Linked DNA regions of Homo sapiens: all the other regions are linked to region 4. Evidence: promoter capture Hi-C in 16 types of primary human blood cells and fetal thymus (Javierre and others, 2016). All regions are on one chromosome and are shown on one strand. Each heading gives the region's core, a stretch centred on a gene start or on the middle of the fragment in contact. The rest is flanking DNA. Distances are from core to core; before and after follow the strand shown.

What was found. Contacts are between HindIII fragments. The CHiCAGO score rates a contact against its expected background, and 5 or more counts as called.
Region 1: a fragment that was not itself captured here is called in contact with the fragment with the promoter of CMIP in region 4 in 16 of 17 cell types (erythroblasts, megakaryocytes, neutrophils and 13 more); the score reaches 18.2 in erythroblasts.
Region 2: a fragment that was not itself captured here is called in contact with the fragment with the promoter of CMIP in region 4 in 16 of 17 cell types (naive B cells, total B cells, neutrophils and 13 more); the score reaches 18.5 in naive B cells.
Region 3: a fragment that was not itself captured here is called in contact with the fragment with the promoter of CMIP in region 4 in 17 of 17 cell types (naive B cells, naive CD8 T cells, total B cells and 14 more); the score reaches 17.4 in naive B cells.

What each region holds. Positions count from the first base shown.
Region 1 is chr16:81,586,487-81,589,384 of GRCh38, reverse strand. The region is part of intron 1 of CMIP (c-Maf inducing protein); the gene reads right to left. Among named protein-coding and RNA genes, the nearest start is that of MIR6504, 23 kb to the left of the region's middle. The HindIII fragment of the contact is 645 bases long and covers 1,204-1,848 here.
Region 2 is chr16:81,664,752-81,667,801 of GRCh38, reverse strand. All of the region lies in intron 7 of CMIP (c-Maf inducing protein), which reads right to left. LOC100129617 (a long non-coding RNA gene) reads right to left here and starts at 2,448. Exons shown (of 1, transcript NR_045112.1): 1 at 526-2,448. The HindIII fragment of the contact is 2,087 bases long and covers 585-2,671 here.
Region 3 is chr16:81,625,590-81,628,448 of GRCh38, reverse strand. All of the region lies in intron 3 of CMIP (c-Maf inducing protein), which reads right to left. Among named protein-coding and RNA genes, the nearest start is that of MIR6504, 16 kb to the right of the region's middle. RefSeq lists enhancers at 445-1,066, 2,248-2,437. The HindIII fragment of the contact is 7,087 bases long and covers 1-2,859 here.
Region 4 is chr16:81,443,291-81,446,375 of GRCh38, reverse strand. It overlaps CMIP (c-Maf inducing protein), which reads right to left and starts at 1,568. Exons shown (of 21, transcript NM_198390.3): 1 at 835-1,568. The coding sequence starts at 1,134. RefSeq lists enhancers at 1-30, 2,195-2,727 and silencers at 576-875, 1,306-1,355, 1,426-1,775, 1,886-1,985. The HindIII fragment of the contact is 9,361 bases long and covers 1-3,085 here.

The sequences.
Region 1 (2,898 bases), core at 277-2,776, 140 kb before region 4:
TGGCTCATGCCTGTAATCCCATCATTTTGGGAGGCAAAGAAGGATGGATCACTTGACCCCAGGAGTTCGAGACCAGCCAGGGTAACATGGAGAAACCCCGTCTCTACTAAAAACAGAAAAATTACCCGGGTGTGGTGGTGCACGCCTGTAGTCCCAGCTACTTGGGAAGCTGACGCAGGAGAATCGCTTGAATCAAGGAGGCAGTGGTTGCAGTGAGCCGAGATCACGCCACTGCACTGCAGCAGCCTGGACCACAGGGTGACACACTGCCTCAAAAAGAAAAGAAAAACAAAGAAAGAAAAGGAAAAAAAAAAAGCAATACAATATTCTGAGCACCGGAATATGTTTATGGCCTTTCATACATTTTTCTCAAGTTGTAATGGTAAAGAACACAGCTTTGAGAACAGAAAACCTGACTTTATATCTCAGCTCTGCCTCTTACAGGCTGTGAGACTCCCAGCTAGAGAGCCAGTTGGGCTTTATGAACCTCGGTCTCCTCATCTGTGAAATGGGAGTGATAGAGGCCAGGAGACAGGGCCACAGGAAGACGACGGGAGGCCCACGTCTGGCTCATGGTAAGTGCTCAATGAATGTCAGCGTGTACAGCACAGAGGGCCTGCTGTGCCCCACGACTAAACAGCACACCGGCTTTCACAGGGTCTCCTGCATGCTGGGGGAGACAGACAGAAAAGACAAATAAGTGAAATACACAGGATGTTAAGTGATGATAAGCGTAGGTGAAAAGCAAACCAAGCAGATAACAGAGAACGAGGATGTTGGGTTTTGGCAATTACTGAAGCCATGGCCATGTCATTTCAGAAGAAGTAGGTAATGATGTAATTGTCACACCGACAATGCTGGAGAAGCACTGGGGCTACTGCTCAGCGCCTCCCAAGGTACAGCACCCTGCCCGTAAACGAGGTCAATGGACGGTGGCACACCGGGACCACACCTGACAAGCGTGGCTCCAGATTTAAAGAGAAAACTTCTGCCTTCAGAGAATCAACTGGAAGGGACAAGTCTCCCCCAAATCTCTTAAAAAGAGGTTTAATCTGGGACTGGGGAAAAAGAGAGAGAGAAGAAAGGCATCTACTTTGAAAGACAGACTTGGGTACTTTTTCTGGCCAAAAAACAAAAACTATGCAAGCCGTCTTTCCCTTTCTGCTACCTCAACAGAGAGCTCCGAGACGGCCAAACAAAGCTTGGGGTGATCGGCCCAGCCCTGGGGATCCGGAGGGTCTCGTTCTGTTTGATCCTAATTGCCTCCTTCCACACAGTGTCTCAGCTCTGAAAAGCCTCGGTCCTCTTGGAGGCAGGCAGGGTATAATATCAAGACAAATGCAGTAGTTCCTGGGGAAGCAAGAGCCGGCAGCCTTAGACGGTGTGTTTCAAGTGGGAAATCCCTGACCGTTCCTGCCTCAGCGCTGGCCTGGGGGCTGCAGGCTTCCATGGAGGGTTTCCAGGATATGTGACAAGGGAGCTTGACTCATGCACCCGCACACTGGCTGTCCACACACGGACCTGGCCACCTTTCTCCAGGAGGCTGGACAGTCAGGCCCAAAACATCTGAGGCTCTCACCCTCAGGAGGGGATCAACGTGTGCTCTCTAAAATCACCATGAAAAATCTGCTCCCTGAAGTCAGGGGAGGAGGGAGAGACAGGTTTGGTCACTTCAGGAAGTCAGGAGCAGTAGAGGAAAGTTCTGGAAGATGGAGCAGAGACGGCTGAGATTCCCACTCCAGCGCTGTAGCTCACCCATTGGGTGGCCTTTGGCGGCCACTTCATCTCTAGCACCTTTGGTTTTTTCATTGGTAAAATGGGAATGAGAAGAACACCCACCTCAAAGCTTTACCGTGATGGGGATGATGATCTGCGCAATCTGTGCAGCAGCTGGGGAAGCAAGGACTTTGTGGTGGCTCTGGCTGAACAGAGGTGAAACCGGCCCCCCACTGGGTCACAGGCCCCCGAGTACATATGGCACAGACACAGACTGACCGCCTCATCGATTCCACCCACAGCACTCCACCTTTCAAAATTCTGCCTACCAAACATACTCATCATATAATGAGCAGAGGTGGTGTTTCAAATGTTTAATCGCTGGTACAGCCCAGGAATGGGCGGCCCCATCAGAGTGGACCCCAGCTGTAAAGCTGGCTCCAGTGTCCAGTGCGCTCCCCTAGACCCTGCCCCGTGGTAATGAGTCATGCAGGTTCCCTTTCTCCTGTATAAACACCTCTGACTCCCTGCCCTTCTGCATTTCTGTTTCAAATCAATACCAGTTAACTGCTATTAGGGAATCACACTGCACACACTGCATCAAAAACAAAAACCAACCACACAGATTTCATCTCATGTAGCCTGTTCTTTACTTTTCTAAATTGGGAAAACAGCTCATGGGTCCCAACAGACTTAGGTGAATACCTAGAATTCCGGAACACCCCAGATTTGAATCCAGCGAGCTCTCCTCTTTGAGTTCTCTACTTTCTTCTCTCCTTTACCTCACTTTAAGCACCCATGCAAATGCCCCCTCGGTTCATTTGTCTAACATCTGTGTGACATAGTCCAGAACCCCTTCCTTAAGGACTCCACAGTTGAGTGGGGAGTCAGATGTCTACACATTAGTAGAATTCCATGTGTATGTGTGCAGGTGTGGAGGCAGAGGAGCCCGAGGGAAAGTGGGACGAATACTTCAGAGAGTATGCGATGTTTGAGTTGGGCTTTGAAGGATGAATAGGAGTTTATTGGGCAGAGAGAGAGAAGTTGAAGGAGGTGAGTCATAAAAACTGATTAAATCTCGATTACAGAGAGCCTTGCGTGGCAGGCTACAGTGCTTGGAGTTACACCGGATCACTGAGGAATGTGAGGGCTTACTGGGATTTAATTCTCCTAGTACGGGAG
Region 2 (3,050 bases), core at 379-2,878, 220 kb before region 4:
ACTCTCTCTCTCTCTCTCTCTCTCTCTCTCTCTCTTTCTCTCCCTCCCTCCCTCCCTCCTGGGTTAGAAAATGAGGCCTCTGCCTCACAAGTATTTAATCTGGCTTTGGGCTGCCACGTCTGTCTCTGGGCCTCACTGACCCCACTATGGAATGAGGGTCCACAGAAGTGATCTCTAGCCCCCTTCCACCACGAGGGTTTTATGATTTTGTAAACTGCTTCAACAGAGACTTAAGGTAACTGTCATCTTAGCTATTAGATTTTTGAATAATCAAGGTCATTTCCATGGAAATAAACATTTACAGAGGGATCCAGCAGCCTCTGAAAAATACGCTCCCCTTGGAAAACTGGAGGTTAGGTTACTTGACGGTCCACTGGGGACCACAGCCGTGTCTTCTCGCCTCCTTTGCCACAAGAACACTCCGAGTGGCGTGGGGGCACAGAGATACATGGTCATTCTTCAGAACGCAGTTTGGCGAATTATTTGGACTGAATCTCCAGAGGAACATACTAAAGAACCGCTTCCTTTTGTTTCTAGTTTTTATTTCAGTCTAGTAAAGAACATTCTTTGAGACTCTCAAAGCTTCAGTTTGCTCATCCGTGAAAGGGAGCACATAACATATTTGCAAGAGATGCACCCAGAATGGGGGAGCCCCCAAATCCCAGAACAGCACCGTGGCTACGTTCCCCCCGTTTCCTAAATGTCTGAGTGCCTCCTTAAGGAGAAACACTGCATTTGGGGTGAAGAGCAGTCACTGTTCATGCCACCCCAACAGGCTCATGGCTTAGGCAGGCTAGGTACGCTCCTTAGCCAGAGACATGACCCCCCCCCCACACCAGCTGAGAGCCCCAGCTCCACAACGGTGCTGCTGACCCGTGCCACTCATTAAGCATCAGGGCGCATTCAGTGAGTAAATGTCAAAGCTCTCTCTCGCCCACCGCCTGTGTTGTTAGGATTCCATGAGGTCAGGTCTTCCTGTGCCTGGCATGGCCATAATCACTGTTTAATACAGTCTGTTCTTCTACACGAGAGGCGGATCCTCCTCGGTCCTCCCAGCAGTTCTCCTCTGCCGCCGCCGCTCATGGTGTGTAATTAGGAGGCGCCAAGAGCAAGGTGGGATCTGGGTGCGTTAAAGCATCCCCAGACACCTGGGATCACTTAGGGGGTACTCGTTACAAGTGAGGCGAGGACTCATGGCTGAGGGTCCCTACTCTCTGCCAGACTGCCACAGATACTATAAATTCTGGGTCTGCCCAGAGCGGTTCTGATTTTTATAGAGAAAATTAATACATGGTCAACACTCCAGGCCCATAAAACTAACCAAATACAAGAAAGGCGTTGTATGGTGAAGCCCCGAGAGCCTGTCTGAATTATGAATTTTTTCCCTTTGAAGTCAGATGTCCTCAAAGAACCCTTATGAAACGGTTTATTGACTAACATGGAGTATGCAAAAATGTTTATGTGCCTGAAGAGGCATTCCTCTGCCAAGTATGTCCCGGGGGTGTGGCTCTGCCATTGACAAGTTAAGGTCCTTCGCAAGAAAACCTGAAGAACCTTTGCTCTGAACTCCAGCATGGCACAGCCCACTCCATACACTACACCCGTAGTGATTTTAAAGTTAACAAACAGGGCACCTTTCCTTCTAGCTGGCCAAAGCCAGAAAGAGCTCCTCCTTGAAACTATGAGCGCCCAAATTAAGGCAGAAACCCCGCCCCATCCCCCAGTGGGGAGTCTCCTTGTCCTGGAGAAAGAACTGCACAGGGTGTCCCTATCCCCTGTGTTCTGAAAACAAGAAATGAATTTACCCCAAATCTAGGAGGGGCTCAGAAATCAGCAACAATTCATTTACAGTTTGCAATCGCTTAGGGTAGAGAATGGTACATAGCATTCATTATGGTACTAACACGATTTCAGTTGGTAGTGGTGGCCTGGAATGCAGGAGGGGAAAGAGTGTGATGCTGTCTCTGGCTCTACAGAAAGAGTGCTATAATTGATTAATGATGTCTGCCATGAGCATGGAAGGGGTAGAGGAGCACATGTGTCATGCACTTCCATTCCTGACTGGGGAAGGGGCTGTAGGTGATATACTATTCTTCAGGGGCATGGTGTGGAGACAGGCAAGCTACATCACAAGTGAAATGATGTGTGGTTACCCTTTTTCAGTTGTTTTCACGTGCTCCAGGAGACTCTAAAATCTAACGTGGTGGCTGGCTCAGTACAACATGTGATTGGGAATGGGCCCTGGCCTCAGGCTGCCTGCTCCTTAGCTCCCACCAGGACCACCCACAGCTGCTCATCAGACCCTGCCTATCCCGTCCCACCTCTCTGGGTCCCAGATTCCTCCTATGCACAGGTGTCATGGGAATGGCATGAGGGTTAATAACACAATACACTCAAAGAGCACCACACTCTTGACTCCAAGAAAGTGTTCAATAAGCATCTGCAAAAAGATGTTATTCTTATTCCTACCTGTGGTCCCTGTGGCCACTTAGTGGACCTAGCTAAGCCTCAGTTTCCTCGTGACATACAGGGCAAATAATGGCATTTGCTGCTGTCCCTGGAATGATGAGGGAACACCAAGGGGCCACACAGATTACAAGCGCCCCACCCGCTCTAAGTGTGCAATTAAATCCTGCTTTTGTATTTAAAAAAAAAAATTAAAGGCCAAGCTTTATTCAGATTTCCTCAGTTTTCCCTTCATGTCCCTTTTCTGTTCTGGGATCCCATGGAGAGCCCCAAATGACATTTAGTCGTTACGCCCCCGTAGACTCCTCTGAGCTGTGACAGTTTCTTAGAATCTCCTTGTTTTTGATGACCTTGACCGTGGGGAGTACTGGCCAGGTACTTTGTAGACTGTCCCCTTGTTGGGATTTGTCTGATGTTTTTCTCATGATTGGAATGGGGTGATGGGTTACTGGGAGGAAGACCATAGAGGTCAAGTGTCGTTTTTATACGTCCTATGAAGGGAATATTCTGTCTAACTGGCTTGTTGTTGTCGATGTTGACCTTGATCACCTGGCTGAGGCTGAGTGTGTCTGGTTTCTCCACTG
Region 3 (2,859 bases), core at 174-2,673, 180 kb before region 4:
AGGCACTGGCACATGCATGGGACAGGAGTTAAGTGTCCATCATGGCTCGAGGACCAGCTGCAGCCTTGTGCTAAGGCCTTGGGGTGCAACTGGGGGCTCGGCTTGGGCTGGATGACGACTTGGGGGATGTGAGCTTGGGAAGGGATTTGCAGCCTGGTGGAGAAAGCGCCTGGGGCCACATCTCTAGGACACTAGGAGTGGCTCTTCCCCAGGGAGGCTCCCATGACCAGGAGGCGACCCAGGGGAGGTGGGCTCCGGGAGCAAGGTCAGAGCCAGGGGTGACAGCCCCTACTGGAGGCCCGGTCCAGAGCCTCAGGATTTCCCCTTTTGTAGGGATCCCCCCTTCTAGCATGGCCCTCAGTGAGGGGTCAGGGGAGGCATCAGCTCAAGGGCTCTGTGTCATTCTGACCTGGTCCCCTGGGCCTTTCCCCTGCATGGGGATGAGGGTGATGGATCCCGCCCTCCTGAGGGTGCAGCCAGTGGGGACATGACCCAGGCCCTGCCCTCAGCTTCCCGTCAGGTGGGCTTCCCCTCTCTGAGCCCCAGGCACTTTGCCTTGGTGCTGGGGACTTTGAGGGTTGTGGTCCCCCAGCGCCAGCTCCCAACACAGAACATGGAACAGACTCATTCCCGAGGCGCCGCAGCCACTCATGAGGTGGAAGCGAGATTGTGACCCTCGCTGGGAGGCATCTGGCTTTGGCACGGTCCTTTATCCTCATCCTTTATCCACTTGGACGCTCAGTCCCCTCTGCTATGAGATGGGGGAGGGATGTGGACCCCACAGAACTGTTTCCGGACTCAGGAGCACAGGGGCACATAGTGCTGGACACAGGGGACACTCCGTGGCCAGAGCCGGGCAGAGACAGTCTCGAGGGCGGGCTTCCCACCCACCCTAGCCCTCCCAGGCCATGAGTCAGCCGGGACCACCTGTGGAGGCTGGAAGGGGCTGCCAGGGAGACAGGCCGAGCCAGCTGCTCCCACCATGTCGGACCCACTTGGAGACACTGATGATGGCGCATGAGAGGCTCCCACGCGTGGGCTCCTACCAGGATCCCTTCTGCCTGCTGCACAAACAACACAGCCTTCGATCCTCACACGGCCCAGTGACGAGACGCCATGATCATCCCCATTCCACAGAGGAGAAAACTGAGGCCCAAAGAAACACACTCCAAACCAGCATACTCATAGTATCCCCACAGGCCACACACACACTCACACACACATAAAACAGTCATCCCACATGCCACACACACACACTCATAAAATAGTCACCCTACAGGCCACACACACACACATTCATAAAATAGTTGGCCCATATGCCACACACACACCACACACACACTCTCACAGTCACCCCCACACACCACACATACACAAACACACACATAAAACAGTCACCTCACATGCCATGCACACATACTCATAAAACAGTCACCCTACAGGCCACACACACACACATTCATAAAATAGTCGCCCCATATGCCACACACACACTCAGTCACCCCCACACACCACACATACACAAACACACACATAAAATAGTCACCCCACAGGCCACACACACACACATAAAATAGTTACCCCACAGGACACACACACACACTCATAAAATAGTCACCCCATATGCACCCCACACACACACACACACACACACACACACTCTCTCTCTCTCTGTCACTCCACACACCACACACACACCCACACCCACTGTCATAAAATAATCTCCCCACACCACACACCCTCATACAAATGACCCCACATGCCACATATACACACAAATAGTCACCCCACACACCACACACACACACTCATAAGCCACCCACACACCACACACACACGCACACCGTCACCCCACACACCACTCACACACTCATAAGCCACCCACACACCACACACACATGCACACCCATAGTCACCCCACACACCACACACACACATGCTCAGTCACCCCACACATTCATAAAAGTCACCCCACATGCCACACATACACACACACACTCATAAGATAGTCATCCCACACCCCACACACACTCATAGTCACCCCACACGCCACACACACTCATAAAATAGTCACCACACATACTCAAAACAGTCACCTCACACACCACACACAGACACACCAGTCACCTCACCACACTCATAAAATAGTCACCCCACACAACACACAGTCACACTCAGTCACTCTCGCTCTCACACACACTCACACATTCACTCTTACACACATTCTCACGCGCACACACACTCACTCTCACACTCACACACCCCACATTCTTTTCCACCTTTCTCCACAGAGGAGGGACAGAGGCCTGGGCCTGGATGCGGTGATCGAGGGGCTGTGGCCACCCTAGGGGGCTGGGAAACCTGCCCAGCAAGAAGAAGGCAGCGTGGCCAGGGCAGGCAGCCAGAAAGGATCCAAAGCTGGGCTGGGATTTTCCCAGAGCCAAGGGCACTCCTCTGGCCCTGGCAGCCCTGGGACAGGAATACAGGCCAGCTTCTTGTGACACACAGTCTGCTCATTGGTCCCCGGCTCTGGGGCTTGGCCCCTGGGGCTGTTCTGAGTGACCTCACTTCCCCTGGGGAAAAACCATCTTGGTTTCCAGGACTAGTGTGCCTCGGCCTGAGGAACCCCTCTCAGGAAGCGAGAAGGTGGAGAGGCACCAGGAGCTCCAGCTCCCATAGCAGGTGCATCCTGGCTTCTCGGGGCTCCTCTAGGAGCCTGGTGTGTGTCTCCTCACAGCCCAGTAGCCTGGACCTGTCACCTGGGCCTGTTCACATGGACAGACTTGTCCCTCACAGCTGTGCATACCTGGGTCTCTCACCTTGAAACCCTGGACACAGAAACAGGCCAATCTTCTCAAT
Region 4 (3,085 bases), core at 319-2,818:
TCTGATTTCAGAAACAGATCAATGGTTTTTCCTCTCCGACTCATCCAGCTGACCCAGTCCTACCCATGTATTTAAAAACAATAACAAAATTAAACCTCCAGCAACAAAACACACACGTATACACACACTCTACAGACAATGCCGGACCAGGGCTCCACCAAGCAGCTTCTAGGCTAGAACTCGACCACCGCTGGGTCCTGAGATATTCCAGGACCACTGCCCCCTCCCCCTCCACTTCCAACCTCTCAATGTGCGAATGAGATTTTCAGAAAGGGAAGCACCCCGTTCTGCCTGCCAGCCCTGGCAGGAAAGAGAATAAAGGACGGGTAAACCAAACAGAGAAACTGGCTTCTGGAAATTCTTTGGGTTTGGGGGTTTGGAGGTTTTGTTGTGTTGTTTGTTTTTTTTTTTAAATCTGAGGGGTGGTATTTTGTTTTCCCCTCCCCCACCCCTCAGATCCAGATGGGCCAGGGGCTTCCAGAGAGAACCCCCACCACCATCAGGGCCCAGCGTCGGGTCCATCCTCGAGTCCCAGCCACCAGAAACACAAGAGCTGGGGGCAGAAGGTCCCCAGGCACCCAGCCTGGCGGTGGGCCGAGTCTCCAGCATTTTAAGGGTCTCTCCTGAGCCCGGTCGGCTGGTTTGGGCTTCAGACTCCAAAATCGAGCCCCGCGAGCAGGCCAGGAGCGAGGCGCCCTGGTTCTCCCCGTTCCCCCGGCACCCCCCACCGCCCCCCAGGCCCTGGGCTCCAGGTGCAGCGCCAGGGGGCAGCCAGGGAGGGCGCATCTCGGGCCCCGAGGAGAGGCGGGGGTGCAGCCGCGCAGAGCCACTCACCGTGGCGGACGCCAGGCTGTTGTCGGCCAGCGTTAGGTGGTGCGGCTCCCAGCGCCTCAGGAATTTCGAGGTGAGGATCTTGCTGAGAAAGGTCCGCGGGTGCCGGATGACACAGACCTGAATGTCGCCCTCCTGCAGCAGTTTGTACCTCATCCCGTTGCAAAGCAGAAGAGCCCGGCGGCAGGGCACGGCGCCCATCTTCGTGCCTTCGGGGGCCGACACGTCGCCCCCCAGCAGCGGCTTGGTCTCCTCGATCTGCCGGGGGTCGCCGCCGCCGCCCGAGCTGCTGGTCACATCCATGGCCGCGCCGGGGGAGGGGGCTGGGGGCGGGGAGAGGGGGCTGTCCTGGGCTGCTGGGGCGGCGGGGCCCCCGGATCCGGCGGCCCGCACCCCCCCACCCCCCGGGAAGGTGGGGGGGTGTGGGGCTGGGGGCGCCCGCAGGGGAGGGGGCGCTGCCCGCGGGGGGCGGCGCGTGCGGCGGGCTGGGCCGGCCTCGGCGCTTCCTGCGGGGCTCCGGGCTTCCTCCTAGCTCGTCGGGTGCATGCTCGCGGCGGCTGACCGGGCTCGGCGGGCGACGGGGAGGGGCGGGGGAGGCCGAGGGCGGGCCGGGGCCAGGCGCGGAGGGCGGGCGCCGGGGTGGGGGCGGCGGGGTGGGGGCGGGCGTGTCTCGGGGCCCCGCGCCGCCGCGCGCGTGTGTACAGAGCGTGTGTCCGCGCGGCCGTCCGGGCGAGAGTGGCCGCGGGCGGGGCGGGCCGCGCGCCGGGCTCCCGGAGCCCGGGGCGCCCGCGCGATTGGTCCCCGCAGGGTCATGTGCCCGCCCCTCTGACGTCAATGGCGGCAACGGCGGCGGCCGCGGCGGCTTCGGCCTCTCGCGGGCGGAGTCCGCGGTCCGGGCGGGGTCGCGGCCCACGACGGGGAGGCGCGGCCCGACGGGAGGGGCAGCCCCTGGGGAGGGGGCTGGGGCGGGCGAGCCCCGCGGGGTCCCGGCCCGCCCCGCCTGGAATGTGGGGAGGGGGCGGGGCGCGGGGGCGGGGCGCGTGACGTCACGCCAGCCGCGCCCCCGCGGGTGCCCGGGCGGGAGCCCAGCCAGGCTGCCGGAGCCTGGGGGCCCGCGCCTCACCCACCCCCGCCGCCCCCGGGCCGGACTCGGACGGGTAAAGAAGGATACCCGAGGGCCGGGGGCTGGGTGGAAGGACGGGGACTGGAACCCTCGACCCCTGACGCCCCCTCCGCTGTCCAGGCTGTCCAGCGGGCTGGCCAGATGGGGCCGTGGGACGGGGACGCCTTCCCGACTGAAAGTGTCCCCGCGGTGATCCGGAGGATGAGCCCACCCTGCCCTGTCTCCCACTGCGGGACCCAGCCGGCCTCGAACTCCTGGCCTTTGACGTCTGCTGGCTTTGGCCTTGGGGGTCCTCAAACCTTCTGGAGAGAGGGGACGGTCCGCCCATCCCCCTTCTTTCTTCTGCCCAGGGAGACAGAGCCTCTTCTAGGAACCCACTTAAAGCACCCCCCAACCTACACAGCCACCCCTCTTGTGCGCACCCCAGCAGCTCCCCCTACTTCACCTTCCCTGGGACCCCACCTGGTCATTTTATCTGAGTTCACAGGCCCAGCACCAGCCCACGAGAGAACCATATTCGATTCTCTTGTGACCCAGGGTATCAGGAACTGCAGCCTGGATGCAAAAAGCTCCCTTTCTGCCATCACAAGCAGCCGGCACCTAAGGCCACCTAGCAAATGCTCAGCTCCTCAGCCAGGTTTTCTTATCTCCACGTGCTCCTGCAGCTAATAACGTTAAAACCCTAGATTTTTGCCTTTTTAAGTGAAGGCGCCTCTGTAGTGAACACATGAATGTGTGCAGCGTGTGTTGAACTGCGTCGTGAACACTGCGGAATATCCACAGCATCTGTGCCGTTGGTGGAAATTATTCACCCCCCCTCTCCCAAGAACAGGCAGCATGAAGGTGCTCCCCAGAGGACCCTCTCCCCGAGCCTGGCCAGGGTTTCAGGCAGGGGATGAAAGGCAGGTCCCAGGCTGCATCCCTCACCAAGGAAAGAAGACTCACATCCAGCCTGCCCAGGAGATGCCTCCTTGGGGAGGCACAATTAGATTAGAAAGTTAGAAATTCCTTAGCTCCCCACAATTTGCTGCCATTTCCTTCCAGTTTTGAGCTTGAACAGCCTTGAGAAAACCACCAAGCATGAAGGGGCAAGCCCTAGATATGTGGGTGTTGGGGGGTGGTTGGGGCCAA